Linked DNA regions of Homo sapiens: all the other regions are linked to region 5. Evidence: promoter capture Hi-C in 16 types of primary human blood cells and fetal thymus (Javierre and others, 2016). All regions are on one chromosome and are shown on one strand. Each heading gives the region's core, a stretch centred on a gene start or on the middle of the fragment in contact. The rest is flanking DNA. Distances are from core to core; before and after follow the strand shown. Region 1 holds the start of TOPBP1 (DNA topoisomerase II binding protein 1). Region 2 holds the start of C3orf36 (chromosome 3 putative open reading frame 36). Region 3 overlaps NEK11 (NIMA related kinase 11). Region 4 overlaps SRPRB (SRP receptor subunit beta). Region 5 holds the start of DNAJC13 (DnaJ heat shock protein family (Hsp40) member C13). Region 6 overlaps CDV3 (CDV3 homolog). Region 7 overlaps PIK3R4 (phosphoinositide-3-kinase regulatory subunit 4).

Region 1 (4,348 bases), core at 509-3,008, 1.2 Mb before region 5:
GTGCCAACTGCACTCCAACCTGGACAACAGTGAGACTCCGTCTCAAAAAAAAGAAAAAAAAAGTACATGGGAGTATGTGCACAGGTTATATATAAGGTACTTGAGCATCTTCAGATTTTGTTATCTGTAGGGGGCCTTGGAATCAATCCTCCGTGGATACTAACCATTTCACCCTTTCCTGAAGGACTGCTGTTCAAGCAAACTTTAATGTGTACCAAAATCACCTGAAGGGCACAGATTGCTAGCCCTACCCCAAGTGCTCCTGACTTAATAAGTCTGAAGTGGAGCCCAAGAATTTTCATTCCCCCAAAATTCCCAGGAGATGCCGATGCTGCTGGTCCAGACACTACACATCAGAACCACTGCTTTATCCATTTTCCAGGAGTAGATACTAGAGACAGACCCTCTCTGCTTATCTGGAGACACAAGATGGGAGAACTTGCCCCCTAGTGGTGAACTCTTACTCTAAAGACAGGTCACTCCTCTGGTATCAAGTTCCGGCTGGGTAAAAGCTAAAGGGTGCATTTTCTTCATCTTCATTAGCAGCATCTATGAATCTCCTTCTCTTGTGAGGTCTCTACTTGGCCCAGAAATGCCAGGAATGGGCTCCCTCCCCGGTGTGGAACTTCACACAGAGATGGGCAGACAGCACGTGCCCAGGAGCAGTGTGGTGTGTCAGGAAAGGCACGGGCAAGTGACACAGTCCCTGAACTTCACTTTCCCCATCTCCATAACATGAGACAATGATACCCATCTATTATAGGGTTGCTGAAAAGAGTAAACGGGAATAGTGTGAGCAGGAGTCCCATGTTAACTGTAAAGTGCCCTAGAAATATTAATTGTTATTACAGATTCAGGTCAGATTTGCACCTTAACAATTAACTGTGGTTTCTTTTTTTTCCCACCTCTAGTGATTTTTGTTTTTTTGCTTTTAAGGCTTTCTTCACCCTTCCCCCAGCAATAGGCCTTTACCTTTGAGCCCCAGTGTTAATTGATTCTGACTCATTTCTGGTAAAAAAAAAAAAAAAAAAAAATTAATGATATTTATTAAAGCACAGTAAGACAGATTTTATTCCGGACCATCAGGATAGGTATAGCAACCATGGCAATGGGATTCTGAATTAGGAGAGAGAGAGTGGGCTCAACTCTAAATACACCATGGGCAAGTGGGAATTTATAGCCAAGGAACAAAAAGCTTGGGGTCACTGGATAAAAAATTACTAAGAAGGAACTTCAGGAGTAAAGGGGTTTCTTGCTGAAAATAGGTCAAGGTGATCAGACATCACCTTGGATGGTAGAGGATGAGGAACCTGATCAGATATTGAGGGTAGAGGGTTCTAACTGGATTTTCCAAGGAAATGCACAGATAAACCTACGAGAAGGTTGAGGAGTCTGACTAAAGTTTGGCCAAGCAAAGAATCTTTGTCACCTTCCATCGGTGTATTCAAAAACTTAAGACTCAAGCTGCTCATTACTATCTTTAGGCTCTAAAAAGAAAAGAAAAACAAAAACAATCAAGGGACATGGCATTATACTTTTACATTAGTAAATCCAAAGTCATTTTCTCAATCTCAGCAGTGAATAATAAAATGATCCTCATTAGTATAGTGGCTAGATTTTATAAAATAAGAAAAAATTTTTTTAAAAAAGAATAAAATGAAAAGAAGCAACAACGAATCAGTTTTCCGCTGGTTATCACTAAGGTTTGCAGGCCCATCTTATCCCCTCTCCCTTTGCTCTCTGCCATCTGAATCTTAGGTTCAGTCCCAGAATCTCCCCAGTACTGAGGCAGATGCAGAGAAAGAGAACGGCGATGTCCACTGAAGGGGAGGAGGAGGGGAGACCATTGAAGATCTTGACAAAGATCCCTTTGCATTAGCTGTGTAATAAGTCATCCTTTCTTCCCTTGCCATCTTGTGGCTGTGTTAGGCGGTGATTCTATTCCTGCTGTGTTGGAGGGAAACCACCCAGTCCGTAGTCAGAAGACCTGGATGCAGTATTAATTCTACCACCTACTAGCCGTGTGCCCTTGAACCCATCATTTAACTTCCTCCGTTTTTACATCTACAAAATGGAACTACCACTATTTGCCTCACGGAATTGTTTTGGATAATACCTTTTCCCGTGCATGCCTGGTATAAGACAGGTGTAAAATAAATATCTATTGAGGAAATCCTTTCTTTCCCTGGCTTTTTTAACAGTAAAGGAGTATTCCTGGCCTGTGGTCCTACCTCTTGAACCGACGGCGCTGGGCCTACTCGCAGCGGAGACTAGGCCCGCCCAGCAAAGCCCTAAACCCAAAGGGTCCGGCCCAAGCTTTCCCTGAAGCCCCACCGCCCACAGACTGCTCACCTCCACGTTTGACATTTCCGCTCTTCTGCTGCAGCTGCCGATGGCGTCACTTCCACCGGAAAAGGCAAGCGCGGCCGCGCGGTTGGCGCGAAAGTCGGTTCCCGTTCTGGGCAATTTCCGGGTTCTCCAGCGTTTGCTTTGGGGTAGGGGCGGCGCCGAGTCGGGGGAGGGGGCTGTGCGCCGGGCTGGCGCCCGACCCCAGCCACCGCCCTGCGGCCAGCGCGTCCCCCGACTCGCCGCCCGGAGACCCCGAGGCTCCAACGAGGTAAGTGAGGCGCGGAGTGGGGACACAGCTCCTCCCCAGCCCCAACTGGGGTTCGCGATGCCTTCTGTGGCCTTCAGGACCCTCTTTTCCTGTCCTGGTAACTGGCCCTGGAGCCGGCGGGTGGGCCTTTGACGCCGAGAGGACGTGGCTTCCGTGATCCCAGAGCCAGGCCTTTTCCTGGAGATGGGAACCGGAGCATCTAGCCTTATGCAGGGCCAAGACCATGCTAACTGGCTTCCATGTTTATATTTAAAATCTGTTTACTGAGGGATGAACGTACCTCGCAGGCCGTGGGTATCCGCAGGGACAGATACACTCTGTGTATCCTTAAAACAAGTGCAATTGAATGTCCATTGGCCTAAAGGGCTTAGAGCCTTCATAGCAGGGCCTTCCTCAGTGTATTCAATTCGGGTTAATTTTGCTGTCTGATTTGCAAGGATTGGTGTTGTCATCTTTTACCTTGGCTTTGTCCAAGTTCCAGGATTTCTTAGAAATGCCGTTGACGAATTCACGGGCAGAGCCAGAATGTCTGTCTTTAGGCATTCTTGTCTGCACAGAAAAATAGGTAGGTTAAACATGCAACTTTTTATCTAATGTGGTTTTGTTCTTGTTAATGGTTCCTTTATTTTGACAGTTCAGAAATGTCCAGAAATGACAAAGAACCGTTTTTTGTGAAGTTTTTAAAGTCTTCAGACAATTCCAAATGTTTTTTTAAAGCTCTCGAGGTAAGAGTTGAAAACATCTTAATACCGTGAATTCATTTTCTTGTTTTTAAGTGTTTTTGATTTGTTGGGCTTTATGTCTTAGAAGTAGATATTTCACTTTCATAATAATTTTATAGTCTACATTAATACAGATATATCATTATCACATATTTTTGAATTGATCTAAGTACATCATTATGTATTTCGGGGGGCTGGAAGTCTATTATCACATTGCTGTTTAATATGGCTGACCTACAGTTCTTGGAAATTAAGTTGCTTTCATTTGTCTCCTAGCCAGAGTGGTCCTTTGCGTGCTGTAGAAATTTGAGTCAGTTGTGTACTGGTCATACTTGAAAATTTTTTGGTTAATTGTTAAAAATTATGTTTTATTATGTACAGTATAATAATTGGATGATAGTAGGGGTGATGTAGATCCTTGCTTCTCACAGAACCCAGCAGTATCAGCATGGCCTGGAAGTTTCTTCGAAATGCAGAATCTTGGCCTCCAACCCAGACTTAGAATCTGCATTTCTAACAAGATCTTCAGTGTGCATTAAAGTTTGAGAAGCATTTGTAGCAGATTTTTTTAAACTTCATTCATTCAGCAAGTATTTATTGAAGTGTTCATGATTTGATAGGCACTTCTCTAGTACTTGGGATTTATCAGTGATGAGAACAGGCAAAGATTTCTGTTCTTTCAGAGCTTACATTCTAGCAGGAGGACATAGACACTAATCAGACATGATAAATTAGGAAGAGAAAAAAGCAAAACACGTTAAGGGGTTCCAGAGGATGTTTCTTGGGGTGGGAAGAGAAGGGGGTTATAATCTTAAATAGGGTGTGATCAGGGTAGGCTTTATGAAGAAAAAGATATTGAGTAAACGTGAAGGAGGTGAGATAGCCTTGCAGATATCTGGAGAAGAATGTTGCAGGCAGAGAGAGCAACCTTATACAGCCCCTGGGAAAGTGCCTGTAGTCTCTATCCAAGTTTAGTGTACTGTTGTGTAGTGAGTGAGGGATGGGGGAA
Region 2 (3,883 bases), core at 1,181-3,680, 1.5 Mb before region 5:
TAATGCAACTGTCAACCCATTAGCCTGGTATCAGGCAAGTACCAGACACTGCTTATTCCTTCAGTGAAGTTCTGCTGGGCTCTGAGAAGGCCGCATCACTGCTCTTGGGTTTATATCCAGAAGCGGAGCTGGACGCAAACAGCTATGTCCATGGCACAAAACAGAATTAATATCATAATCAAATTGATCACATGGTCACAACCAGTACTACTACTCCCAAGAAAATCTTTCTTTTCAGCTGTCAGCAGGGAATATAATAGTGTCACTTTCATTTCACTTCTAGAGCAAAGCTTAACAAACTTTCTTGAGTGTGTGACACTCACAGAGGATGCAAATTCCCAACACCCTCCACCCAGCCCCAGCGTCTACTTCTGTGGGTCTAATGGGGACCCAGGAATGGCTCTTTTAACGGCCCCCTCATGAGATTGATGTGGGTAGTTCCCAAATCCTGTGAGGTGGGCTGTCAGTGCAATAGAGCCTGGGGTATGCCCATTTGTGCTTAGGCCACTGAGAAATTTACAGGCTCGATAGGCCTTTGGTATGTTCAAAGGTGAGTGAAGGATAACAAGGTGAAGAGATGCCTGTGAATCTGATTTTTTGGATGGCTGCAACTAAGAGTCAATGGGCATGAAAAACAATCCAAGAGCTCACATTTATATGAGGCCCTTATCAGTACTGAGAGAGACATTCTCACTTCACAAGCTTGGATGTGCAAAAAGAAAAAAATCACTTATTTCTTTAAATCAGTTATTGATTTCAAACCCCCCATCCTACTGTCTGGCTGGAAATTCAATATCAACCATGCTTGGGTCTGGCTCCTAGAGCCATCTGAAGGTCCTTGGATGCCTACGCATTCAAGGGTGCCATTGTGGGTCTTTGGTCCCTTTCCCATTTGAGGCTGTTTAATGGCCCTGCTTCTCACCTGAGCCTGGAAACCCTACAAAGCCGAGACCCCAGGGTTAGGCCCACCTCCCTGTGCACACTCGCGGCTATGCCCTCTCCCGGCCCCAGTCCTAGGAAGCCCACTCCTCTGCACCACTCCCTCTCCCTACAGAATCCCGCTCCTCAAGGGCTGAACAAAAAAGCCGGAAAAGGAAGAGTGTGCAGGAACCTTTTTTATTCAATCCTTCTTTTACCCTTCTTGGAAAAAGCGCAAATACAGTGATAACTAAATACCGTATCTCTATCAATTATCCTTTGGCCCAAAGCCCTTTGGGGTGATCCTCCATGATGGATGCCCCATGTAAAGGTGAGGAATCTGATCCCGAGGAAGCAACCATTGTGGCCAATTTCACATAGATAATAGCTGGCCAGGTCTAGACTCAAACCAGGCTGTCCACTTCTCTCTGGTCCAGCCCAATTGCCCCAGCTGAGTCATTCTGAAGAGTCAGCATGGACTAAAATGGTGGGGAGGCCCCTCTTTTCCCACTGATGTTCACTGGCCCATGGGAGGGAAGTGGGGGAATCTCTTGAGGGCCATTAAGGTGGGTAACAAAGGCAAAAGAACCAGGTAACAGTTCATTTACTTACCTTCTATTCAACTAGCAACAACATCACAACTATTCATTAAACAGGGCCAATTTATCCCTATAGCACCATGAGTTAAAGAGAGTTGTGGAGAAAAGAGACAAAGAGGGAAGGGTTTTGAGAAGAAAAGGCCCTGAGAATCCTGCACACAGACCTTCAAGGGAACAGCTCCATCTGGTGACTGCTTAGCAGATTCTTGCTCAAGAAACAAAGCCATATTGTGATTTTATTCAACCACTCTCAAAGATGGAGAGATACAGTTAAGCTGGAGGCTGAAGCCAGTCAGTATCAAATTGATACTAAAATATTATATTGCAGCAAATCCAGAAGAAATACATCCTATCTTTCGCAACCACAGGAAGTAAATACCTGGAAGAAAGGTCCATCTCCTGCCAGTAGCACCAGACACCAGATTCATTATAACCTTTCATCAGAGATTAAATATGGAAACAGATCCTGGAAAAGCCCTTGGCAAATCATAAATGAGAGGAAGTTTTTCTCCATGGCATACCCTGGCCATTCCTCCACTCTCCAGCCACATCATGTCTCCAGCCCTGCTACAACTTGACAGCAATAATAATAACTAAAATGTGCACAGATCTTTACAGTTTACCAAGCCATTAACCCATTTAAAACACTTCTTTAATCAGTAAATCAGTGGGGAAAGGCTTGGCTATGCTGTGGTAACAAACCTCTCGAATCTTAGTCACTTGACACAACAAAAGATGGTATCTCGCTCACAGAACCTGTGGTGATCTGGGTGACTCTCAGGTCAGTGGCTCAGTAGTGCCCCTCTGCCTGCTCAGGGCCTGGAGGATTGGCCTGAGAGCCCCCCCAACCAGTGTCTCAGTAACTCAGACTGTTTGGAACCTGAGGTACCTCCATTTCATTATAAGCTGCCATGATGGATGGGGCAGGGGAAGAAAGTCCTGGAAGATCCCGCACTGCTAAGCAATGCTTTGTCCCAAAGTAACGCTCTTCACTCTGCTCCCAGCCTAGCTGCCGCAAGAGCGGAACAGAATATTCTGTGTGCTCAGGAGAAGAAAAGAGCAGATATGGTTGAGCACTAAAACCCTCTACTGTGGGTAGTGAACCTAGGTGGACACAGTTGCTCACCGGGACACTTAAACCAGCTTTGCGGGGCTGTCGGGGTTGGGAAGCACAGTCTGGAAAGATTTCCCAATGGAGGAAGCACCAATTGTGGGTCCCTGAAGCTGAGGGGATGATGCCCAGGCAAGGCCGAGGCAGTCTGCAGAGGGCTGGGGAGGTGGGAAAGACGATTTTGCTCAGAGGAGGCAGAGATGGGGTGGTGGCTGAGAGAGATGCAGGGTCAAGGAAAGGATGGCTTCAGAGAGGAGAGATTTGCTGGGGCAAAAGGCCACAGGATGGGGAGGCTGCGGGGTCCAAGAGGACAGCTGATGGAGCGAGACCCTGCAGGCAAGGAGGAGATGGGGTGACTCATGGCAGAATCGCACCAGAGTTCCCACAGCCCTGTGCGGCCACTATGACTAGTCCCATCCTGTACATGGAGAAAACGAGGCTCCTTCCAGTTGTCCCTCACGCCTCCCTTGATTTATGTACTACCTGATGTGTATAAGGACAGGTGGTGACAAACACATGGTCCCTACCCTTCAAGGACATATAATCCAGAGCTAAGACAAGACCTTAACACAGGGCAAAGTACTATGCTCTGAGTTCATTTGATGAGCGATGGGAGAACGGGCTTGATCCTAGCCATGCGGGAGAGACTGGAATTCAAGAGAGTCAAATGTGCTGGGAAAGACTTTCTGGGCAAAAGGAATAAGCAAAGGTGTGCAAAGGTAAGGAAGCAGGAAACCTTTGCACATCTTGAGAACTCGCCGGCCAGAGGCCTGTGAAGGAGCGCAGTGGTCAGGCAGGAGAGGCAGTCGGATGCAGGCTGAGACCATCCTGGAGGGTCTTGAGGCTGGCTTACCCCAGGCTGTGAGTAGTGGGCTCAGCCTAGTCCCGGCTCCTGGGTTAGTGCTCACGTGTCTCTCTGCCCCCTCAGGGCCTGGAGGAATGGCCTTAGAGCCCCCACCAACCACGCTCAGGAAGGCATTCCTAGCTCAGAGTACCCTCCTGGAGTCTACACTGGAAGGGGCTCCTGAGTGGGCCGCGCCACACCCCGAGGAGCAGAGGCGCAGTCCTCCCGCGTGCTCCCAGCACACTCCACCCCTACCCAGCACACCCACGGGGCCCCCACCTTGCTCACCTGGGGGGAACCACCCACTCTGCGCCCTCTCAGGGAGAGGTGGTGGCCGCTGCTCTATCCCCTCCCTCTCTTCCTCTTCCACCTTCTCTCTCTTCTCATCTGGGTGCTGGAACCCAAGGGTGA
Region 3 (4,301 bases), core at 1,710-4,209, 1.4 Mb after region 5:
GTCCCATATTTCTTGAAGTCTTTGTTCATTACTTTTCATTCTTTTTTCTCTAATCTTGTCTTCACACTTGATTTCATTAAGTTGATCTTCAATCACTGATATACTTTCTTCCACTTGATTGATTTGACTATTGATACTTGTGTATGCTTCCTTCATGAAGTTCTTGTGCTGTTTTTCAGCTCCATCACATCATTTGTGTTCTTATCTAAACCGGTTATTCTAGTTAGCAACTCCTCTAATTTTTATCAAGGTTCCTAACTTCTTTGCATTGGGTTAGAACACGCTCCTTTAGCTCGGAGGAGTTCATTATTATCCACCTTCTGAAGCATACTTCTGTCAATTTGTCAAACTCATTCTCCATCCAGTTTTGTTCTCTTGCTGGCGAGGAGTTGTGATCCTTTGGAGAAGTGGCATTCTGGTTTTTGGAATTTTCAGCCTTTTTGCGCTGGTTTTTCCTCATCTTCGTGGATTTACCTACCTTTGTTCTTTGCTGTTGGTGACCTTTGGATGAAGTTTTTGCGTGGTCATCCTTTTTGTTGATGTTGATGCTATTGCTTTCTGTTTGTTAGTTTTCCTTCTAACAGTCAGGCCCCTCTTCTGCAGGTCTGCTGGTATTTTCTGGGGGTCCACTCCAAACCCCGTTTGCCTGGGTATCACCAGCAGAGGCTGCAGAACAGCAAAGATTGCTGCCTGTTCCTTCCTCTGGAAGCCTCATCCCAGAGTGGCACCTGCCAGATGCCAGCCAGAGCTCTCCCGTGTGAGGTACCTGTCGACCCCTGCTGGAAGGTGTCTCCCCATCAGGAGGCACGGGGGTCAGGGACCCACTTGTGGAGGCAGTCTGTCCCTTAGCAGAGCTCGAGTGCTGTGCTGGGAAATCTGCTGCTCTCTTCAGAGTCAGCAGGCAGGAACGTTTAAGTCTGCTGAAGCTGTACCCACAGCCGCCCCTTCCCCCAGGTGCTCTGTCCCAGGGAGATGGGAGTTTTATCTATAAGCCCCTAACTGAGGCTGCTGCCTTTCTTTCAGAGATGCCCTGCCAGAGAGGAGGAATCTAGAGAGACAGTCTGGCTACAGCGGCTTTGTGGCACTGCAGTAGGCTCCACCCAGTTTGAACTTCCTGGCAGCTTTGTTTATACTGTGAAGGGAAAACCACCTACTCAAGCCTCAGTAATGGTGAACACCCCTCCCCCCACCAAGCAACAGCATCCCAGGTCGACCTCAGACTGCCATGCTGGCTGTGAGAATTTCAAGCCAGTGGATCTTAGCTTGCTGGGTTCCATGGGAATGGGATCCGCTGAGCAAGACCTCTTGGCTCCCTGGCTTCAGCCCCCTTTCCAGGGGAGTGAACAGTTCTGTCTCGCTGGCATTCCAGGCACCACTGGGATACAGGGAAAAAAAAAACAAAAAACAAAAACCTGCAGCTAGCTGGGTGTCTGCCCAAACGGTTGCCCAGTTTTGTGCTTGAAACCCAGGGCGCTTGTGGTGTAGGCCCCTGATGGAATCTCCTGGTCTGTGAAGACTGTGGGAAAGGTATAGTGGCTGAGCTGGAATGCACTGTTCCTCATGGCACAGTCCCTCACAGCTTCCCTTCGCTAGGGGAGGGAGCTCCCCAACCCCTTGCACTTCCGGGGTGAGGTGACGCCCCACCCTCCTTCTGCTCGCCCTCCGTGGGCTGTACCCACATCTAACCAGTCCCAATGAGATGAACCAGGTACCTCAGTTGGAAATGCAGAAATCACCCACCTTCTGCATTGATCTCGCTGGGAGCTGCAGACCAGAGCTGTTCTTATTCGGCCATCTTGCCCTGGAATCGCCTTTTGAATTTTTATAAAGTAGAAGTCTCCACTGAGTACTTCCAAGTACTCAATACTGAGTTCATGTCCAAGTATAGTTATGAAATATTGAGCCCTTGCCTCTTCATCCATCAGAACGGGATATTATTACCAGCTGAACACAACTTTTGCTGCTGAAACTAGTGTTGAACTAAAAAACTGTCCAATTAAAAAATGCATACACATATACACACCTTAAACACACACATACACACACACATATATATACGTGAGTATATATTTACGTATGTATACACATACACACACACACACAGAGTTTTTATGGTTATGTGAGCTAGCAAAATAATGCCAAAATAAGCTTTATCTGTGGGAAATTATCTACTGTTGTCAGTTTTCAAAACCTTTTGAATATGTACTTACTCCCTGCAAGTTCAATAGTCAACTGCTTTAAAGCTTACTTAAAATGCAATTTCAGATATGTGTCAGGTCCAATTCATATGGAACACCCAAATGTTTCATTTTTTAAGTAATGTTAAACTGCCTTGCAACTCACATCTGTCATTAATCCTTCCTGTAATTTTGATTACTAAAGCAATTCTAAAAATAATAGAAACTACTCATTAGAGCTCAATAATCTTTGCACCAAAATGTCTTTGAAATAGCAATATAAATTAAAAGCAGCTGATCACCAAATAGCAAATCCAATATTGCAAAAAGTGGATTGGCCGATATTATCCCCAAACTCACAGTGTATGCATTTGTATGAGGCTTATGAGATGAAAGACATAAGCAAAGAAAGAAGAGAGGAAATGAAGGGCTGTGGGGCCACAAATCTTCCTTGAATCTCCCCTGAAGGAAAGCAGCCATAGCTAAGTGATTAGGTTTTAAAGGGTTTCTCAAAATTCAAACTAATAGGGAAGTGGAAACATCAACCAAACTTTAATTAAAATGCTAAGTGACTGCTGCATGTGGGAGAGACTGAGAAAATTGACACCCAAACACATTCTAATCAGAAATTCAATGTTCCAAATTTTCCACTCTTAGAAAGTTGGAAACCTAGTATGTAGGACAATATTATCAACTACATTTTGATCTTCCTTCTTCACTTGCCCAATAAAGGTACCAAAAACAAAGCCTATGATTTTTCTCTGAGCTAAAAACAATAAAATTGGCTGGTATGAACCCAAGATTAAAAAGCAGCACTCAGCTGAAAGTATCAAGTTTCATAATGATTATCATTAGTAACTGCAAATTCAGCCAGTTTAACAATCTTAAGGGTTTTCATATATCATGGTACAGGGTTTTTGCTTTTTCTAAACACAATTGTTAAGGTACAATTGACATAATACACTGCACATATTTTAAGTGTATAATTTGCCAAATTTTGATATATGTATATACCCATGAAACATGACACCATCTCTACAATCATGATAATGAGCATATCCATCACCCCCACACATTTCATCAGGCTTAGTGTTTGCTTTCTTAATAACTAAAACTTTGGGTGTTTTTTTTTTCATATAACTACCCAAATAAATACAGCACTACTGTACTAATAAGTATGTTCTATAGCATGTCAAAGGTTCATAATTATTCATTCGTGAGTAGCAGGGACTAGGGCTTATAAGAGTATCTGAGAAATAAAAAGTGTTCTCGTTAAACTACGGAATGGAAATTCAATTTCACAGTATTTTAAAGCAATAAAGGTCACACAATATTAACTGCTTATTTTTGATACTACATAACATTATTTATACAATGCACAATTAGTGGAAGTAAACTACTTTTAGAACTCTGGTGCCAACAATGTTTATTTCCCACATAGATGTACAAATTACTCTTAATTAAATTTACAAATTACTCTTTCCAAAAACCAAGCTTAGGAATAACTGACCAAGAAACTATTACTAACATAAGGGTTGCTTGTCTCTCATGTTGACTTGTAAGTCATGCACATCACTCAAAGTGCACTATTTAAACATGGATGTTATGGCAACTAAGCTTTTTTCCCCAGGAAAATCAGTTGAAGAGTAATAAATTGATCCAGAAACTAATTTTAACTTGAGAATTTTCCCCCTTCTCATTTCTTTTAAATTTAAGTCATATACATATCTCATTTCAAGTTACTTAAGGGTGGATGATATCACAACTAAAATTTTCAGTTCAAAATAGGTATAAAGTTGGGTGCTGGCCAAAATTGCCTATATTACTCTTGAGAGACATTCATGCGTCAAAAAGGAACCAGATCGGTTTAGAAGGAAAGGACTGAGTAAAACAGATGCCTCCCTCAACTGATCCAGTTAAAGTAAGCAATGGTAAAAGGGAACTGCCTGCTGTCTGCCAGGAAGAGAGCTGGGCTGCCGGATGCACCAAAAGTTGTTGGAGGAAATATTCTCCCCAAAAGGCTGCTTGTGTAGAAACAACAGCAAGAAGGGCTAGTTACAGATTATACTTGAGGGTGTTGTGCTTGTTTTGGGGTCAGGAAATTAAAGTTAGCTGACTGAATAT
Region 4 (4,101 bases), core at 1,595-4,094, 1.4 Mb before region 5:
TTTGAAAGGCAGCCATAAGGGAGAACTGAACTTAAAAAAAAAAAAAAAAAAAATTCCAAGCTGGTTTCAACAGTACTTTGTTTCCAGAACAAAGAAATGTTTCTAACCACATCTTGTACCCCTTCCTCATCAACTCCAGACTACCACAGACCTTTTTCCAAAACTGTGTGTCACACATCCAGGTCTTGTGCTTTAGAGCTGCCTCTCAGGCAATTTTAGCCAGCCATTTCTCCAAGTCCTGGATGTCAGCAGAGCCCACGTCCCCTCTTCCACCCTTGGCACTGCACTCCAGGAACTCCACTTTGAGGGGCAACTGTGAGAATTCAAACTCTTTGCCTTTCTTCCCCAGCTGAGCAGGGGCAGTGCTGGAACTGTCCAGTGTGCTGGGGGCAGCAGAACGGGTAACTCGTAAGGTGTTGCTGTGGGGCAAAAGGAAAGAAGTCAGGAGGCAAAATTTTTATACAGCAATTAAATCATATTAGTTTCTAAACATTTCAGCACTCATTTAAAACTTAACTATAGAATTGCCAATTATGCTATTAAGATTGTTGAATAATCCTTTGCATTTATAAGTCCCTCTCTTGGACAGAGAGGTGAGGTAGGTGGGGCGGGCTGGGGGGGTCAGACCTCACAGGGCTAGAAGGCAGGTCAGCAGTAGACCAGGTCACACCAACTTTCTTTCAGCCCAAGGCCCCCTTCTAAGAGGATCTACTGAATGAAGCCGTCTAAAAATATATTTTTAAAATACATGCTTTAAGTGTTATAAAAACATAAGTTTCTGAAAGTTAAGTGTGGGTAGATAGGGTATGTATTTTTATCTTGAGTCTATTTGGATATGGAGTTTAGAAATCCACCAACTCCAGATTCTCATATCTAACTAGGGCAGAATTACTATTATCCAACCTCTTTAACCACCAAAACCTTCCCAATGTAAGTCCCCTTACTGCCACCTGCTGGCCCTAATAAAGGGTGCATAAGCAACACTCATTTGTCGGCCTCCCCTTCCCCTTTCTGCTATCCAGAAGCAGAGGAATACATGCTGCCAATCTTCTTTCTTACAAAATAAAGCATTTCTTGTTCTGTAAAGTTGCTTCAAAATTAGTGAAGAATCCACAGGCAAAACTAAGCAATACCTTGTTTAGGAAGGAACACACACACACACACACACACACACACACACACACACTGTAAAAGTATTTTTAAAAAACAATACAAAACTGGATATTGCTGACCTCTTGAGGGAAAAGCTTTTGGGGAGAAACAGGGGCCTTCTAGGCATGGTGGTGAGTACATAGGTATTCATTTTAATATTTTTTAAGCTTAATGCATGTGACATATATACTATTATAAGTAAGATATTTTACAATAAAAATTTTTTAAGGAAAAAAGTAAAACATGTATTCAGCTTTTGCCACAAGGCCATGTAAATATAATATACCGTGTTATTGAGAGACTATGAAATGCCTCTAAGCTAACAGGGCCTAATTCTCATAAATCTGAGATTAAAATTAGTCAGATTCCGAATTTTAACTGATGTTAACCTTTACAATTTGTCAACATTTTGTTTCACTGCCTTTTAAGAAAGCATTGCCTTTCAATGCTTTTAAAAAAGGATTGGCTTCTGTATTGTTTTTCTCTAAGTCTATAGAGTGAAAAGCAAACAGCCTATGGAAAACATGTGTTTTAACCACGGGAGACTTGGACTGTACTGTTAAAAATAACCCAAGACTGATTCACAAATAACATTATGACAGTTTTGGCTTCCCCAAAACAATTCCCAACAATTTCAAGAGAATTTTTAGAAAAACCCAACCATCCAATTGTTCCAATGTCCTTATTAACCTAATGGCAGCAACAGATACAATCCAAGAGAGTGAGCATCAAGAGCACAGGAGGACAGGGTGATAAACTCGCAGCTCCAGACGGGAAAGGAACCACTGAAAATGGCATAGGCAGGGCTGGCAAAATTGTTCTGCAAAGAGCCAGAAATTAAATATTTTGTCGCATATTTTTCTTCTGTTTTTTACCTGCCCTTTAAAAATGTCGATTTACTCTTGGCTTGCAGGCCCAGGCAGGAGTTTGCCAATGCCCGAAGCTGACTAGATTCTACCAGACTCTAAGCTCCTGAGTACAGGAACACATTTCCTCCTACAGCTGCTCCCAACTGCAGTCTTGGCATCCACTAGATGCACTACAGGTGCTTCTTAAATGAATAAGGGAGTCAGTAAGTCATAGTGGGGAGAAAAGTTTCTAAAAGTTGAATTTATACAGTTTTTCCTCATCAGATCCTTTTCAAGGCCTTACACAAAAGCAATAAGAAAACATAACTTGCTTTACTATAAATGTTGATCATTTCTTCTACACCAGCTTTTGGCTAGCTCTTACAAATTGGCATAACGCAGAAGACATGCTAGATGCCTTAAAATTCAAAAGCTTATAGCTCAATTTACAAACCTTGAAACACTCAAAGCAGGATATATAATATTGCCAAGTATTTTAACAATCTAAGAAGCTATAATGTAGTATCAAAGACTTGTAGTCTTCCTCAGTGTTCTGTTCTTATTCTGTCAACAATAATTTCCAAAGTGGCTTTTAAATGTTTTAATTTCTTTTTTCCTGATTCTCAGTTTTTATTTTTTATTATTTACATGCATCCTTAAATACCACTTCACAGGCATTATTGAGTGGTGAACAAACACTTCCACTCACTGAAATAACACCGTTCTCAAGTTGGCATGTAAACTTTTTTAGCTTCTAAAACCTTTCAACTATAAATGATTTAGTAACAATGGTAAAATAAATTAAGTTTATGGTTTCAAAAAAATCTTCTTTCCATGAAATTTTAAAATATCTATAAGCACCCTAGTAAGTTTTTGTGATTCCATTATTTTGTAAATTATTTAACAAATATTTATCACACTAATCTTCAGTCTATAATTGTGATAATCACATAAAACCAAACAAAAGAAACATGAATATGCTGCTTACAGTCTAAGTGTTAAGATATATAATTAACCAACAGGCCTCTTTCACACTTACAGTTCTTTCTCCAGCTGCTGTTGAATTAACTTTGCTGATTTTGCCATTGCAATATCTGTAAAGAAATAAAGACACTGTTGTAGTTTAAACGAGAATGAGTTTTTTCCCCAAGACTTCTTACACAGAAGGAAAATTCCTATTTAAACCAGTAAGTTTTTCTCTTTTTTTAAAAAAAGACCTTTTATCACTAGTTCCTTCTCTATCAAAGTAAGCTTTATACTTGCACTAGGGGCTTTCCCAAGATAATGCTTATAAACATATTATGCTGGTGACCCTAAAACTGACTTTAGCTTTCCCTAAAGTTCTCCACACCTTATAGACCTTTCAATTCAAAACATATAAGTTTACTCAGTTTAACAGAAAGAAAACCTACCAGTGCTGTGATTATGAGAAGTGCCTTCACATGCCAAAAGACAGTGCCCTATCTGTCATTTTAAAGTAAACTTAGCATGTTTCCAATTGATCCTAAGACGGTATGTTTAAAGCATTAAGTGTACTAAAGGTAAGAAACAAGCTCTGGTTTGGCACAAAGCCCATGGCAAATAAACAATAACTCCCTTCCTTATATTCAATCAGGGAAATAAAGAGGTCAGGTAATGACGCTAATTGCATTCCCAATAAGGCATTATCAATATTATCTGGTCACTTCTGAGAAATGCCTTGAACTCTTCATAGAATCAGAATTTCAGATCTGGAAGAGACCTGAAGAGATCCACTAGTCTGTCTTATTGTACAGGTAACGGAACTGAAGCCCAGTTTTATTGGGGATTACTAGAAAAGTTTTCAATGGTTATCAGGTTAAAAGAAAACAACTTCAGCAAACTTCCCTTGATAAAATGTGCTGTACAGTAAACTTGTTTGAAAGCAGAAACTCCACCCTGCAAAACTGTGCATCTGATATCACATATTGTCAATCTGATGAACTTAACTTGGTAAAGTAAAATAATTTATAATCAGAAAAAACACTGTATCAAAGAAAAATCAGTTAGCAGTCACTTGGTTATCATTCCTTGGTCTTCTGGTTAGAAGACTGGTGAAAAGGTAGGAGTAGAAATAAATTTT
Region 5 (4,308 bases), core at 1,610-4,109:
AGATACCCTTCTCCCCAGAGATTAAAGCTTTTTTCCATAGAAGAGGCAGAGGGGAAGAATCACAGCAGTTTCTTGACCCTCTTAAAAGTTCTGTTGCTGTTCCTCTCCCTCTCAATCTGCACAGCAGACTCACCCAGGGTTCTTTCCAGTCTTTTCTAGTAGACCCAGGGAGGTTTGTGGATAAGAGTTTGCAAGATTGTGCATTCAGCTTTCATCATGCTTTTTGTCCAGTTGTGTCTGAAGACGGTAAACAGAAATTGACATCTACTCTCTGTAAGCACTGTCTCTCAAATTTTCAGCCAGTGGTTTTGCTCTGTGGACTCAGCTCTTTAATAGATTTCAAAAAAGTCATGAATTTGTAGTGTAGGTCTTTTTTTGTTGCAGAAGTGAGAGCAAAGCTTCTTTTTTTGTCTCAGGGCCAAAGCCAGAGGTAGTTACATTATTTATAAACTAAAGATAGCAAAGAAGGTGTTACTAATTATTTTTTATAAAAAGGGAGCCTTTATTGGGTCTAATAAAGTTGAGAAACACTGACTCAAGGAACTCTTTCAAAATATTAATAACTCCCCTTTAACTACTGCCATGTTTTACAGTGAACATTTAGGCCAAAACCTATTTGTAGCAACCAAATTTGTGCTGCAGTTTATCTGCACAGCCTTGTTTCAATTACTAATTTAAAGTACCTCAATCAGAAGCAGGGGAAAGGTATGTGTAGCAGAAACCTCATATTCACCTGTGTAAACAGAACTGGTTGAGGAATGAAGCCAAATTAGTTAAAACACATCTTTTCAATTTCAACCCTAATTTGGGACCTATTGAGAACCGGACTCCACTATCAACCTTTTAACAAATTTAATAAAGCCAGTATTGTTACAGTCCACCTGGGCAAGGCAACCATCTTCTATTTATTTGTGGATAAAGTTAAATTATTCCAAACAATTCATTCACTTATTAATATTTTATTTTTTAGCTTAAGTATTTTGTTTACAACTAAGCTTGTTAACAATATATAACATTAATATATTTTAGACTATTTATTACTACCACTTTAGAAAAAGAGGAATATTCATTGCCTCTCAGTGGAATACAAATGCTGATATTTTCCATGAACTGAACTCTAGCCTTAAGGTTCTTTACATTCTTATTTCTTAATAATCCTCTGACTCCTCTTTTCCTCCCTTAATATGTTCTACTTCCTGTTTTCAAACAAGGAGTATAATGTAATAATTTCTACACAAGGACGTGTGTTGCCTGAATGCATTGTGATACTAACAGCACAAGCCAAGTCTGAGATATAGTAGCTTAAAAAGCGTTTCACATTACACAAAATGTGAACAAGGTTTTACGTTATATGATAGATAAGCCAATAAAGTACTTTCCAAAAATCAAAGAACTGTGTTCTGGATACCGAATTTCTGACAAGTGGTTTCTATAAATTTATTTTTTTAAGGCAAATTCTGTTTCATACTCCCATAAACTCAAAGTACTGGTAATATATTATAAAACCTTATCACTGTAATTTTCCCTGCAGGCAGTAGTTTCAAACCTAGAAACCTATCAAGTCCATAAACTGAGAAAGAAAATATAGTAAGAAAGAATTACTGGGGGCAGGTTCTGAACTTCTACTTTTTTCCCCAAGACACTGTATTACAAAAGGCTCAACATAACTGTACACTATAAAGCCCTTCATAGAGGACGCAACAGCATCAGGTACAGAACCTCCTTTTTGAGGGAAATCAGAATAACGTAAAAGGGAAAAGCAGAGGGAAAATGAGAAATAATTACTTTGGGAGACCACCGCCACATTAGGGTGAAATCTTTACTTTTTTCCCCCCTCTAAGCAACGGACACAGGAAACAATCTTAAGACAAACGTGGTTAACGGAACACGCTACAAAAGGAGAAAATTTAAGGGAAGGCACTCTTAAACATAGTTAAGTATCAAGTGATTAACAGCCACTTCACTGAGCGTCTAAGTCCTACTTTACCCACTCCAAAGGCCACATTCAAAGATAAAATCACAGCAGCGGAGGAAAGGCCACGTGAATAAGCTGCCTTGCAGGAAGGAAAAGCCTTAGGGGAGAAAATGATTTTAGAAAAAGTACTGGAGAACAGACGACGCGGATGCTCATTTCCTAACAAAACGAAACAAAGCAAAGAAAGTCAGTCTGCAGGACTTGTTCGGAAGGAGGGTCGCTGACCCAAGGAAACAAGAGTTGCCGGCATCCAGCAGGAAGGGTGCTCAGACTAGGAGACTGGAAGGGAATCCCGAGGGCGGAACCCACAAGGGAATGAAGAGCCTGTGGGGTAAGGATATGTTAAGGCGAGTGGAGGAGCGTACTAGGTATAAAACAAGCAAAAAAAAGGGGTGGGGCTGGACAGGGCAGCGCCCTGAGCTAATGTCACTCAAAGCCGGGGGGGCGTCCAACGAAAGGAACCAGACCAGCAGCCTGGGGGAAGGGTAATCTGCTTCCTTAGCAGCTGCAGGCTGCAGCAGCCAAGACCACCCCGTTTTCCCTGCCCTGAGCCCCACAAAGTCCCCACGGCGTGGGAAGGGAGTAAGGCAGAGCCCCAGAGCCCAGTGCCCGGAGTCGGCTTTACCTTCGCGGGAGGCTGGAGAGGCTCCAGCCCTAGCTCCTCCCGCCGCCGGCTCAGCTTCCAGAGTGGGATGAGGCGCCCTCCGGCCTCCTCACCCTCACCACTTCCCCTTTCCCCCGCCGGGGCCCTGCAGCTCCGCTGCCGCGGGTTCCTGGTGCCGCCGCGGCGCTGCCTCCCCGCCCCCTCCGCCTCCTCCCTCTGCCTCTCAGAGTTTCACTCTGGAGGCCGCCATCTTCGCTCAGGCTTTGAGCGAGCGCGCTCTAATACGCCTGCGTCGCCACCGCCCAGGCTGTCACGAGACCCAGTCAGCTGATTTCAACTCTTCCGTCTTCTGCCCCGCCCTCCCCGTCCTCCCCGTCCCGATCGTTCTTTCCCTGAAATTCTGCTTTCCTCCGGCCAGCCCCCAGCAGCTACACATGCGCAGAGTAACGACACCGGCCGTGGGATTTGGATTCCACGCAGCGCGTCAGGGGGCTGGCGCCTCGGTGGGTGCTGAAAAGGACACGCCCCTGGGCGCGCGCGGGTGCCCATGACCACGCCCCTCCGGCGGGTGCCCATGACCACGCCCCTCCGGCGTGTGCCTTAGGGCCGCGCCCCTCCGCTTATGTCCTGCGGAGAGTAGGGTCGCAACCCGGTACTTAAGCTTTAAGTCCGAGGAAATCTTGTTTTAAATCACCTCTTTTTAGCTCTTGCCGTCAAGTGCCATGGAGCATCTGCGAGGCAGTCTGAAGCCTCAGCCTATCTCCTGGTTTGGCTGGATTGGGAGCCAGCAGGTTCATTTACTATTGAGACGTCCTGAACGACAGCAGAGCAGGGTTTAAGTTATGGATGCTCTGGAAGGTCTCAGAGACCAAATTCTCAGAGACGCCTAAGGCATTTGCAGGTGGGAATGCTGGAAAGATAGTTCTGGTAGCCCCATTTATTGTGTCCGGATCAAGTGTTTAGAAGTTTACTTAAAGCTGCTTAATCTTCAACTCTCTGAGATACGAATCATCCTCGTTTTGCAGATAAGTTGAGGCCCAGCCTCAGAGTAGTGGATTTCATGTTTGCACCCAAGTAATTTGAACCCAGAACCTGTGCCCTCTAGATAACCATCTTCCTGAACCTCACCTGAGAGGGAAGTCAGGGCAGTGAAAAGAGGGGATATTGGGACTAAAGGATTCGGCTAGAAATTATGTGTTATCTGTGGGCAATGGTTTAAATAAGAAAGGTCAATGTCCACTCCCAGATCTGAGCCGTAAAGACCACAGTTTAAAAATTAGTGATTAAAAAAAAAATAGTGATTCTGCTGCAGACTTCAGAGTAGAGGCAGTGTAGGGTGACCTGCATGGATACATTATTGTATAAGGGTTAAAGGTCTCTGATAAGGAGTTGAATACTCATTCTTCATGGCAGTCCTGAAATTGTGATTTCTTGGCGTCCCCTTCAGCAAGTTGGCTCATTTTATAGACAGCGATTGCAGGATGAAAAAATGTGGAAAAATGGTTTTTACAGACTTTACCTCTTGATTCTATTAACCCTTTGCCCTACCTTAGGGCGGAAAAAGACTATTTGTGTTTATCCTTAGACTTTTCTGTAATGCAGCAGTAAGATAAGGTGCATGTAAGGGAAGGTACTAGGAATAGCTGGGTGTGGGAAGACAGAACCCGAAATAGAGTAGGAAGGGAGGAGGAGGAAAAAGAAACAGGAGGGCTGTGTTAAGGGGCCTTAT
Region 6 (3,884 bases), core at 955-3,454, 1.2 Mb before region 5:
TTGGTGGACTGATTAAGATGCCATATGTAAAGAATTTTTTAATGAAATGCCAGTGTGGTTATTTTTTAAGATTCTAGCCAGGGCTGGGTGCAGTGGCTCAAGCCTGTAATCCTAGCACTTCGGGAAGCCCGAGGCAGGCAGATCACCTGAGGTCAGCAGTTCAAAACCAGCCTGGCCAAAATGGTGAAACCCCGTCTCTACTAAAAATACAAAGATGTAGCGGGGCATGGTGGTGCACGCCTGTAATCCCAGCTACTTGGGAGGCTGAGGCAGGAGAATAGCTTGAACCCGGGAGGCGGAGGTTGCAGTGACCCAAGATTGTGCCACTGCACTCCAGCCTGGGCAAGAGAGTGAGACTTTGTCTTAAAAAAAAAAAAGAAAAAGAAAAAAAGATTCTAGCCAGGCACAATGGCTCACGCCTGTAATCCCAGCACTTTGGGAGGCCGAGGCGGGCAGATCACTTGAAGTCAGGAGCCAGACTCTGTCTCAAACAAAACAAACAAAACAAAAAGATTCTAAAGATGATTTAAAAACATAAGACCGGGTGTGGTGACTCACACCTGCAATCCCAGCACTTTGGGAAGCTAAGGTGGGAGGATTGCTTGAACCCAGGAGTTGAAGACTAGCCTGGGCAACATAGTTAAGATCTCATCTCTACAATAAAATAAACAGGTGGCATGCCCCGGTAGTCTACTTGGAAGGCTGGGGTGGGAGGATCACTTGAGCCCAAGCAGTTGAGGGGCTGCAATGAGCCATGATTGCATGACTGCTCTCCAGCCTGGGCCAGAGTGAAACCCTGTCTCTAAAAAATATAAAAATAAAAATTTAACATAGAGTAGTTATCTGTGATTTCTGCATAACAAGATTTGGAGTGATATGTTATTCTTTATAACATTCTAAATAAAATAATGAGTATACACTTCTTTAAAGTAGTGCTCTTAAACTTTCATTATTGCCCTAAGGAGACCTTTCAGACATCTGTTTCCTAACTGCCCCCCACTCCATGAAATTTTAATACTGCGATATACTATACATCTGTTTATGCATTCTAGTCTTTTCGTGGGCCACAAATGACTGTTAAGGTATAAGATTCCTTCATTCCATAAGAAGCAACTTTTACCACCTTGAGAATGATAAAATTGGCCCTGCTGAGAATTCATGCTTCAAAGAACAGGAAAGTTAAATAGGGAATGAAAAAGACAAAGCACAAGTGAAAGACAAGGGCCCCTTGTCTTTCTGTCTTTACTCAGCTGTCAAAAATATTTTAAATGATAAAAGCTTTAGGAATTTTCTCTCTCATGAAAACTTTTGGAGTTAAACCCAACCCTAGGGTAGTTACCACTAAAAATCCTAAATGAAGCTGACCTTGGATTCTAGTAAATTAAAGTCTTTTCCTTACCTTTTCCTCCATTAGCAAGTAGTTAATATTTAACGAGAATATTAGAAGAAATGCTCAATTCCAATAAATGAAACTGGAATCGACTAGTCTATATCTATATAAATTTTACAGCAACATACAGGACAAAAGCATGTCTTTTAACTTCCAGATTCCTTTTATTTAGGATTTTAAAGTCTTTAACAAGATATATACACATCCCACTCTACCAGGAATGGAAAGGAGCCTCTCCTCCTCACCCTACCACAATCATGCACTTAGTTGAAAGTGGACCATATATAAAATCATATATAAATTAGACATCTTTCTGAAACTGAAATAGTAAAATTACCAATTACTGGAGCAGGAGGTGCTTGTACTGGAGCTGTTTTATTCCAGGGACCTGAAGATTTTTCCATACCTCCACCACCACCTCCACCTTCTTCCCAGTTATCACCTGGATCTTGTCTCTTTTCATTATCGTCTTCTTCCTTTTCACTGCTGGAAAAGCAAAGATGTAAATTCATTAAGGAATCACCAAGAAAATTTTCAGTCCAAATCGTTAGTTTTATCCATGATTATCTGTACGACCCTGAAGAAGTCAATCTCTTTCGAGACTGAACGTCTTATTTAAAAAGTGAGGCCAGGTACAGTGGCTCACACCTGTAATCCCAGGACTTTGGGAGGCCAAGATGGGTGCACCACCTGAGGTCAGGTGTTCAAGACCAGGCTGGGCAACATGGCGAAACCCATCTGTACTAAAAATACAAAAATGAGCCAGGCATGGGGGCACACACCTACAATGCCAGCTACTGGGGAAGCTGAGGCAGGAGAATCCCTTGAACCCGGAAGGCAGAGGCTGCAGTGAGCTGAGATCGTGCCACTGCACTCCCTCCTGGGCGACAGAGCGTGACTGTCTCAAAAAAATAAAAATAAAAAAAACCTGATGTGCCTCTGTGACAATATGCCTGATCATTTATAGCAGCCCCACATAAGAGCAAGACCCCAGTTACCACCTCAAGCGACTAAGGGAGGGAAGAGAGGATGATACAACCTGAAATGCAGAGAAGAAGGTGAGCTGAAGGATTAAGAGCACAATTACAAAATTTTCCTTGCACCAAAGTGTACAAACAGGCATTTAAGGTAAGCATATTTTTAGTGAGCAAATGAAGAGTTTTGAAAGTTGTATAATTTTATTTGCCAATCCTTTCGCACATAAAATACTCTCAGAATTAGAATTCACATTCCAGCAGATGAAAACAAGTCTGTGTCCAGTGTTTACAGAGGATAGAATTAGCCCCTAACACCAGACATGTATTTATCACCTGTTTAAAAAAAATATATAAGATCTCAGTCTTTGGCTTTCCAGATGTTATAAATGGAAAAGATACCCTCAGTGGTAACATACCATCTTAAGACTGCTTGCAGTATTTTCTCAATGCTAATTAATTTATTCTTGAATTGACTTGAGTCATAATCTATTTCTCCAAGGCATCTTTGATTATTTCTCTTTTTGCTGGATTACTTTTTATTATTTTGTGTAACTTTACATGTCCTAAATTACCAAGTGTATTTATCTTTTGTCTCTTGACAAAAGGGATACTGACAACAGGGATATTAAAGCACAATAATGGCTAAATCGAACGTCCTTTTTGCAACTCTTCACCTCGAAGATACACCTGGCAGAAACTACCAACATTTTCATAAAATTATTTTTCATGACAATGGTGGCTTTTCCTAGGTCTTCAAGCTTCTCAACTCCTTCACCATTCTACCTTTTCCCCACCTTCCTATAAAAAAAAGGCTGGTTCCCAAAACTCTGTCCCTTGCCTTCTACTCATCACCCTGACTCTCTTAACTGTATAACCTTAGGAACATCACAGCCTCTCTTGGCTTCTGCAAAAGGATATCTAAGGATGCTTTCCTTCCATTTCTATTAAAACAAGACACATGCTGGCTATAAGACAAAGTTCTTGACTAGCTTGACAGTCTCCTTTAAAGATACTTAGGAAAAAAGTAAGTGGCAAAATGCCATTCAAAAATAATGGCACTGGCCAGGCGCAGTGGCTCACAACTGTAATCCCAGCACTTTGGGAGCTGAGGCAGGCCGATGACCTGAGGTCAGGAGTTGGAGACCAGCCTGGCCAACATGGCAAAACCCCATCTCCACTAAAAACACAAAAATTAGCCAGGTGTGGTGACACATGCCGGTTAGCTACTTGGGAGGCTGAGGCAGGAGAATCAGGTGAACCTGGGAGGCAGAGGTTGTAGTGGGCCAAGACTGTGCCACTGCACTCCAGCCTGGGTGACAGAGCGAGACTCCGTGTCAAAAATAAAAAATAAAAAATAATGGCAGCATTGTATGAATTACCTACCAACCAGAAGTGACTGCAGAATTTGGAGGCTAGAGTGACAATGAGGAAGAGTGGAAAGAAGAACAGATTTATCTCGTCTACATTTACAGCAAGATTTTACTTACAACTTTATCTGAGAGGAAAAAGGATAGAGA
Region 7 (3,882 bases), core at 1,060-3,559, 1.7 Mb after region 5:
AAGGTAACATTTGAGCTGAGATTTGAATGATACAGACTCAGTGATGATAGTGACGATTTAAACAAGTTGTTCCACAGGGAAATACCACCCAATAACATCTTTCAGAATAAAATCGTAAAAGTTTTGAGAAAATAAATATGAATTCACTGCTGCATTAGTTTGTTAGGGATGCCATAACAAAATACCATAGAGATGGTGGCTGAAACAAGATTTATTTTCTCTCAGTTCTGGGGGCTGGAAGTCCAAGATCAAGCTAACAGGGTTGGTTTCTTCTGAGACCTCTTTCCTTGGCTTGCAGATAGCCATCTTCTGGCTGTGTCCTCATGGGTTTTTCTCTGTGAATGAGCATACATGGTGTCCTTTCTTATAAGCACGCCAGTCATATTGGATTAAGGGCACACCCTTATTACCTCTTTAACCCTAATTAACTCCTTAAAGGCTCTGCCTACAAATACACTTAGATTCTAAGGTATGGAGATTAAACATATGAACTTGCAGGAGGGGAGGCAGGGGGCACTTGACACACAATTCAGTCAATAAAACCTCCATTTAGTTATAAATAGTCATATGTCACTGTGTTTTTTTCTGACTTTATTTGGAAATACTGTAATTTCAAACTTGAAAGCCTTAAAAACTTACAGACTTTTAAACTTGCAAAAATAAAAATAGAACAAAGGAACACCCATATACACTTTACCCAGATTCACCTATTGTTAACATTTTGCCCTGGTTGCTGTATCATTGGTATCGTTTTCTTCTTCCTCACGCCCCATTTTTTCCCTAACCTTATGAAATAAGTTACATATATTATGGCCCTTTACCCTGAAACATTTCAGTGTGTATTTTTTACTTTTTATTTATTTTTATTTTTTGAGACAGAGTCTTGCTCTGTCACCCAGGCTGGAGTGCAGTGGCGCGATCTTGGCTCATTGCAACTTCCACCTCCTGGGTATCATGCTGCTGCCTCCTGAGTAGCTGGGATTGCAGGCATGTGCCACCATGCCTGGCTAATTTTTTTGTATTTTTAGTAGAGACAGGGTTTCTCCATGTTGGCCAGGCTGGTCTTAAACTTCTGGCCTCAAGTGATCCGCGCCCCCTTGGCCTCCCTGAGTGCTGGGATTACAGGTATGAGCCACTGTGCCCGGCCTTCAGTGTTTTCTAAGATGAGGTATAGTCTGTTACAAAACACAATATAGTTAATGGCTGCAGTAATTTTAACATTGATACAGTAATTACACTTTTTATTCTAATTTTGTATTTGACCCAATAATGTCTCTTATAGCATTTTGCCTGTTTCAGGACAGGACCTTGTTTAGGGTTCAGGTATTACATTTAGTTGTCATATCTCTTTAGCCTCCTTTAATATTTCTACAGCCTTTTTTTCTTTTGTTATTATCACATTGCCATTTTTTGAAGAATGCCTCCCCCCACTTAATTTTTCAAAATCATTTTTATACATTTTAGTTTGAAATTATTGTAGAATCAAAGGAAGTTGCAAGAATAGTGATGTATCCTTCACCCAGCTTCCCCCAATGATGACCTTTTATGACTGTTGTACCATATCAGAATCAGGAGTTGCCATAGGTGCATTACTGTTAACTAGAGTATAGCCCTTACTCAGTTTTCACCAGCTTTTACATGCATTCTCTATGTCACCCACTCCTTTGTTTTTTGATAGGATGTTTCTCATTTTGAGTTTGTCTAATGTTTCCTCATGATAAGATTTATGTTATAACTTAGTAGGAATACTGCATAGATGGTGATGGATTTTCACAGGGTCACATCTGTAAACAAATGATGGTTGTTTGTGATGTTAATTTTAATCATCTGGTCAAAGTCTTCCCAAATTGTCTCCCCTCTATAGTTTTTTATTTTTTTTCAATCCCTTGCAACTAATAACCTGTGGGAAGAGTTTTAAGATGTGCAAATATGCTTGGTGTGGTGGCTCAAACTTGTAATCCCAGCACTTTGGGAGGCTGAGGTGGGCAGATTCTTGAGCCTGGGAGTTCAAGACCAGCCTGGACAATATGGTGAAACCCTGTCTCTACAAAAAATGTAAAAAATTAGTTGGGCGTGGTGGTGTACACCTGTAGTCCCAGCTACCCGGGAAGCTGAGATGGGAGGATCACCTGAGCCCAGGAGGTCCAGGCTACAGTGAACTGTGATCACACCACTGCACTCCAGGCTGGGTGACAGAGTGAGACCTTGTATCAAAAAACAAACAAAAGGCCAGCGCGGTCGCTCACGCCTGTAATCCCAGCACTTTGGGAGGCCAAGATGGGTGGATCACGAGGTCAGGAGATCGAGACCATCTTGGCTAACACGGTGAAACCCCGTCTCTACTAAAAATACAAAAAATTAGCTGGGCGCGGTGGCAGGCGCCTGTAGTCCCAGCTACTCGGGAGGCTGAGGCAGGAGAATGGCGTGAACCAGGGAGGCGGAGCTTGCAGTGAGCTGAGATAGCGCCACTGCAGTCCGGCCTGGGTGAAAGAGTGAGACTCCGTCTCAAAAAAACAAAACAAAACAAAAAAACAAACAAAAAAAGGTGTGCTAATATCCTGCCCATTACCACGGTTTATCGCTTGACATTTGGCATCCATTGATGATTCTTGCCTGATTGAATTTTTGTTATGATGGTTGCAAAAATGATTTTTCCACTCAAATACGTCCTCCACATTCAACAGTAGGACCTCAGCATTCTGCTGTACTCAAGGATCCTCTGTTTTGCCCCATTTATTTATTTATTTATTATTGGTATAGACTAATTCTTAATTTTTTTCAGTTGTATATATTTATTACCTTGTTAATTATATTGGTGCACCAGTTGTCTCAGATTTGGCCAGTGGGAGAAGGAGCCTTCTCAGGCTGATTCCTGTGTCCTTGTGACAGTCCTCATCTTTTTTTTTTTTTTTAAGCATTTCTTTACTTTTTGATATAAGATACCGTACTTACCCTGCCTTAGTGCTCAAACCAGCCATTAAGGAAGCCTAATTCTTTTAGTGTGTAGTGAATTATATTAGAAGCCTCTATCTAGTGCTCGTTGCCATTAGATTGTCTTTGACACTTTGCTCTTACAGCTGACAAAGCCAGGCAATATATGTAGTGTGTGTGTGTTGTACTCTGCTTTTGTTGGGTGGAGTGTTCTGTCGATATCTGTTAGATCCAGTTGGTGTTTTTCCCTACTGTTTTTTTCGCCTCAGCACCAACTTCTAGATTATATTTTATGTGCTTATGTTCCTCAACTTACAACGGAGTTACATCCCAGTAAACTGATTAGAAGTTGAAAATATCATAAATAGAAAATGCATTTAATACACCTAACTTATTGAACTTCATAGCTTACCCTACCTTAAACTTGCTCAGAAACTTACTTACATTAGCTGGTTAATTTTAATTGTATTTTTCGGGTCCTCTGTTTCCTTGTTGCTTATGGTGTTTTTAATAGCTGTTTTTCGAAGTCCTTCATTCTAAAATGTGACACTATACAGAGAGAAATTAACAAATTTATTGAGTGTTTATTATGTGTTAGGAACTTAGTTGCTGGAGATTTTTCAATGAATAGAGAAAAATAGAAAAATCCCTTCCTCATGTAAATTGCGTTCTAGTGGGCATGTAGACAAGAAGAAACATAGAGACTGTCCCCACTTTGCAATGGTTCAGCTTATGATTTTTTGATTTTACCATGGTGCAAAAGTGATACACATTCAGTTGAAATGTATTTGGAGCACCCATACAATCATTCTGTTTTTCACTTTCAGTTCAGTATTCAATAAATTACGTGAGATGAATCACTTTATTGTGAAATAGGCTTTGAGTTAGATGTGTTTGCCCAAATGTAGGCTAATGGAAGTGTTCTGATCATGTTTAAGGTAAGCTAAGCTG

The links. The method cuts DNA at HindIII sites, captures the fragments that hold promoters and counts their contacts. A CHiCAGO score of 5 or more calls a contact.
Region 1: a contact is called between a fragment that was not itself captured here and the fragment with the promoter of DNAJC13 in region 5, in 8 of 17 cell types (fetal thymus, total CD8 T cells, naive CD4 T cells and 5 more). The highest score is 10.8, in fetal thymus.
Region 2: the fragment with the promoter of C3orf36 here is called in contact with the fragment with the promoter of DNAJC13 in region 5 in 3 of 17 cell types (fetal thymus, total B cells and activated CD4 T cells); the score reaches 11.7 in fetal thymus.
Region 3: a fragment that was not itself captured here is called in contact with the fragment with the promoter of DNAJC13 in region 5 in 4 of 17 cell types (naive CD8 T cells, naive CD4 T cells, total CD4 T cells and 1 more); the score reaches 8.8 in naive CD8 T cells.
Region 4: a fragment that was not itself captured here is called in contact with the fragment with the promoter of DNAJC13 in region 5 in 1 of 17 cell types (naive CD4 T cells); the score reaches 5.0 in naive CD4 T cells.
Region 6: a fragment that was not itself captured here is called in contact with the fragment with the promoter of DNAJC13 in region 5 in 3 of 17 cell types (fetal thymus, naive CD4 T cells and total CD8 T cells); the score reaches 6.0 in fetal thymus.
Region 7: a fragment that was not itself captured here is called in contact with the fragment with the promoter of DNAJC13 in region 5 in 1 of 17 cell types (non-activated CD4 T cells); the score reaches 6.8 in non-activated CD4 T cells.

Annotation. Positions count from the first base shown.
Region 1 is chr3:133,660,038-133,664,385 of GRCh38, reverse strand. TOPBP1 (DNA topoisomerase II binding protein 1) reads left to right here and starts at 2,445. Exons shown (of 28, transcript NM_007027.4): 1 at 2,445-2,617; 2 at 3,252-3,342. The coding sequence starts at 3,259. It overlaps LOC124909487, which reads right to left and starts at 3,160. Exons shown (of 3, transcript XM_047449438.1): 1 at 3,040-3,160; 2 at 2,353-2,873; 3 at 1,048-1,487. The coding sequence starts at 3,160. The coding sequence ends at 1,338. It also overlaps a transcript of TF not described here. RefSeq lists an enhancer at 2,019-2,088 and a silencer at 2,489-2,658. The HindIII fragment of the contact is 1,121 bases long and covers 1,198-2,318 here.
Region 2 is chr3:133,928,359-133,932,241 of GRCh38, reverse strand. C3orf36 (chromosome 3 putative open reading frame 36) reads left to right here and starts at 2,430. Exons shown (of 1, transcript NR_161373.1): 1 at 2,430-3,883. The HindIII fragment of the contact is 5,965 bases long and covers 705-3,883 here.
Region 3 is chr3:131,039,309-131,043,609 of GRCh38, reverse strand. All of the region lies in intron 3 of NEK11 (NIMA related kinase 11), which reads right to left. Among named protein-coding and RNA genes, the nearest start is that of NEK11, 15 kb to the right of the region's middle. RefSeq lists an enhancer at 325-1,135. The HindIII fragment of the contact is 1,428 bases long and covers 2,246-3,673 here.
Region 4 is chr3:133,815,871-133,819,971 of GRCh38, reverse strand. SRPRB (SRP receptor subunit beta) reads right to left here. Exons shown (of 7, transcript NM_001379313.1): 6 at 3,040-3,094; 7 at 1-419. The coding sequence ends at 206. Among named protein-coding and RNA genes, the nearest start is that of SRPRB, 12 kb to the right of the region's middle. The HindIII fragment of the contact is 818 bases long and covers 2,436-3,253 here.
Region 5 is chr3:132,416,053-132,420,360 of GRCh38, reverse strand. It overlaps DNAJC13 (DnaJ heat shock protein family (Hsp40) member C13), which reads right to left and starts at 2,859. Exons shown (of 56, transcript NM_015268.4): 1 at 2,601-2,859. RefSeq lists enhancers at 1,995-2,530, 2,470-2,619 and silencers at 2,650-2,789, 3,070-3,169. The HindIII fragment of the contact is 2,245 bases long and covers 998-3,242 here.
Region 6 is chr3:133,581,994-133,585,877 of GRCh38, reverse strand. CDV3 (CDV3 homolog) reads right to left here. Exons shown (of 5, transcript NM_017548.5): 3 at 1,728-1,876. Among named protein-coding and RNA genes, the nearest start is that of CDV3, 10 kb to the right of the region's middle. The HindIII fragment of the contact is 1,847 bases long and covers 1,281-3,127 here.
Region 7 is chr3:130,737,720-130,741,601 of GRCh38, reverse strand. The region is part of intron 2 of PIK3R4 (phosphoinositide-3-kinase regulatory subunit 4); the gene reads left to right. Among named protein-coding and RNA genes, the nearest start is that of PIK3R4, 7.2 kb to the left of the region's middle. The HindIII fragment of the contact is 4,950 bases long and covers 1-3,882 here.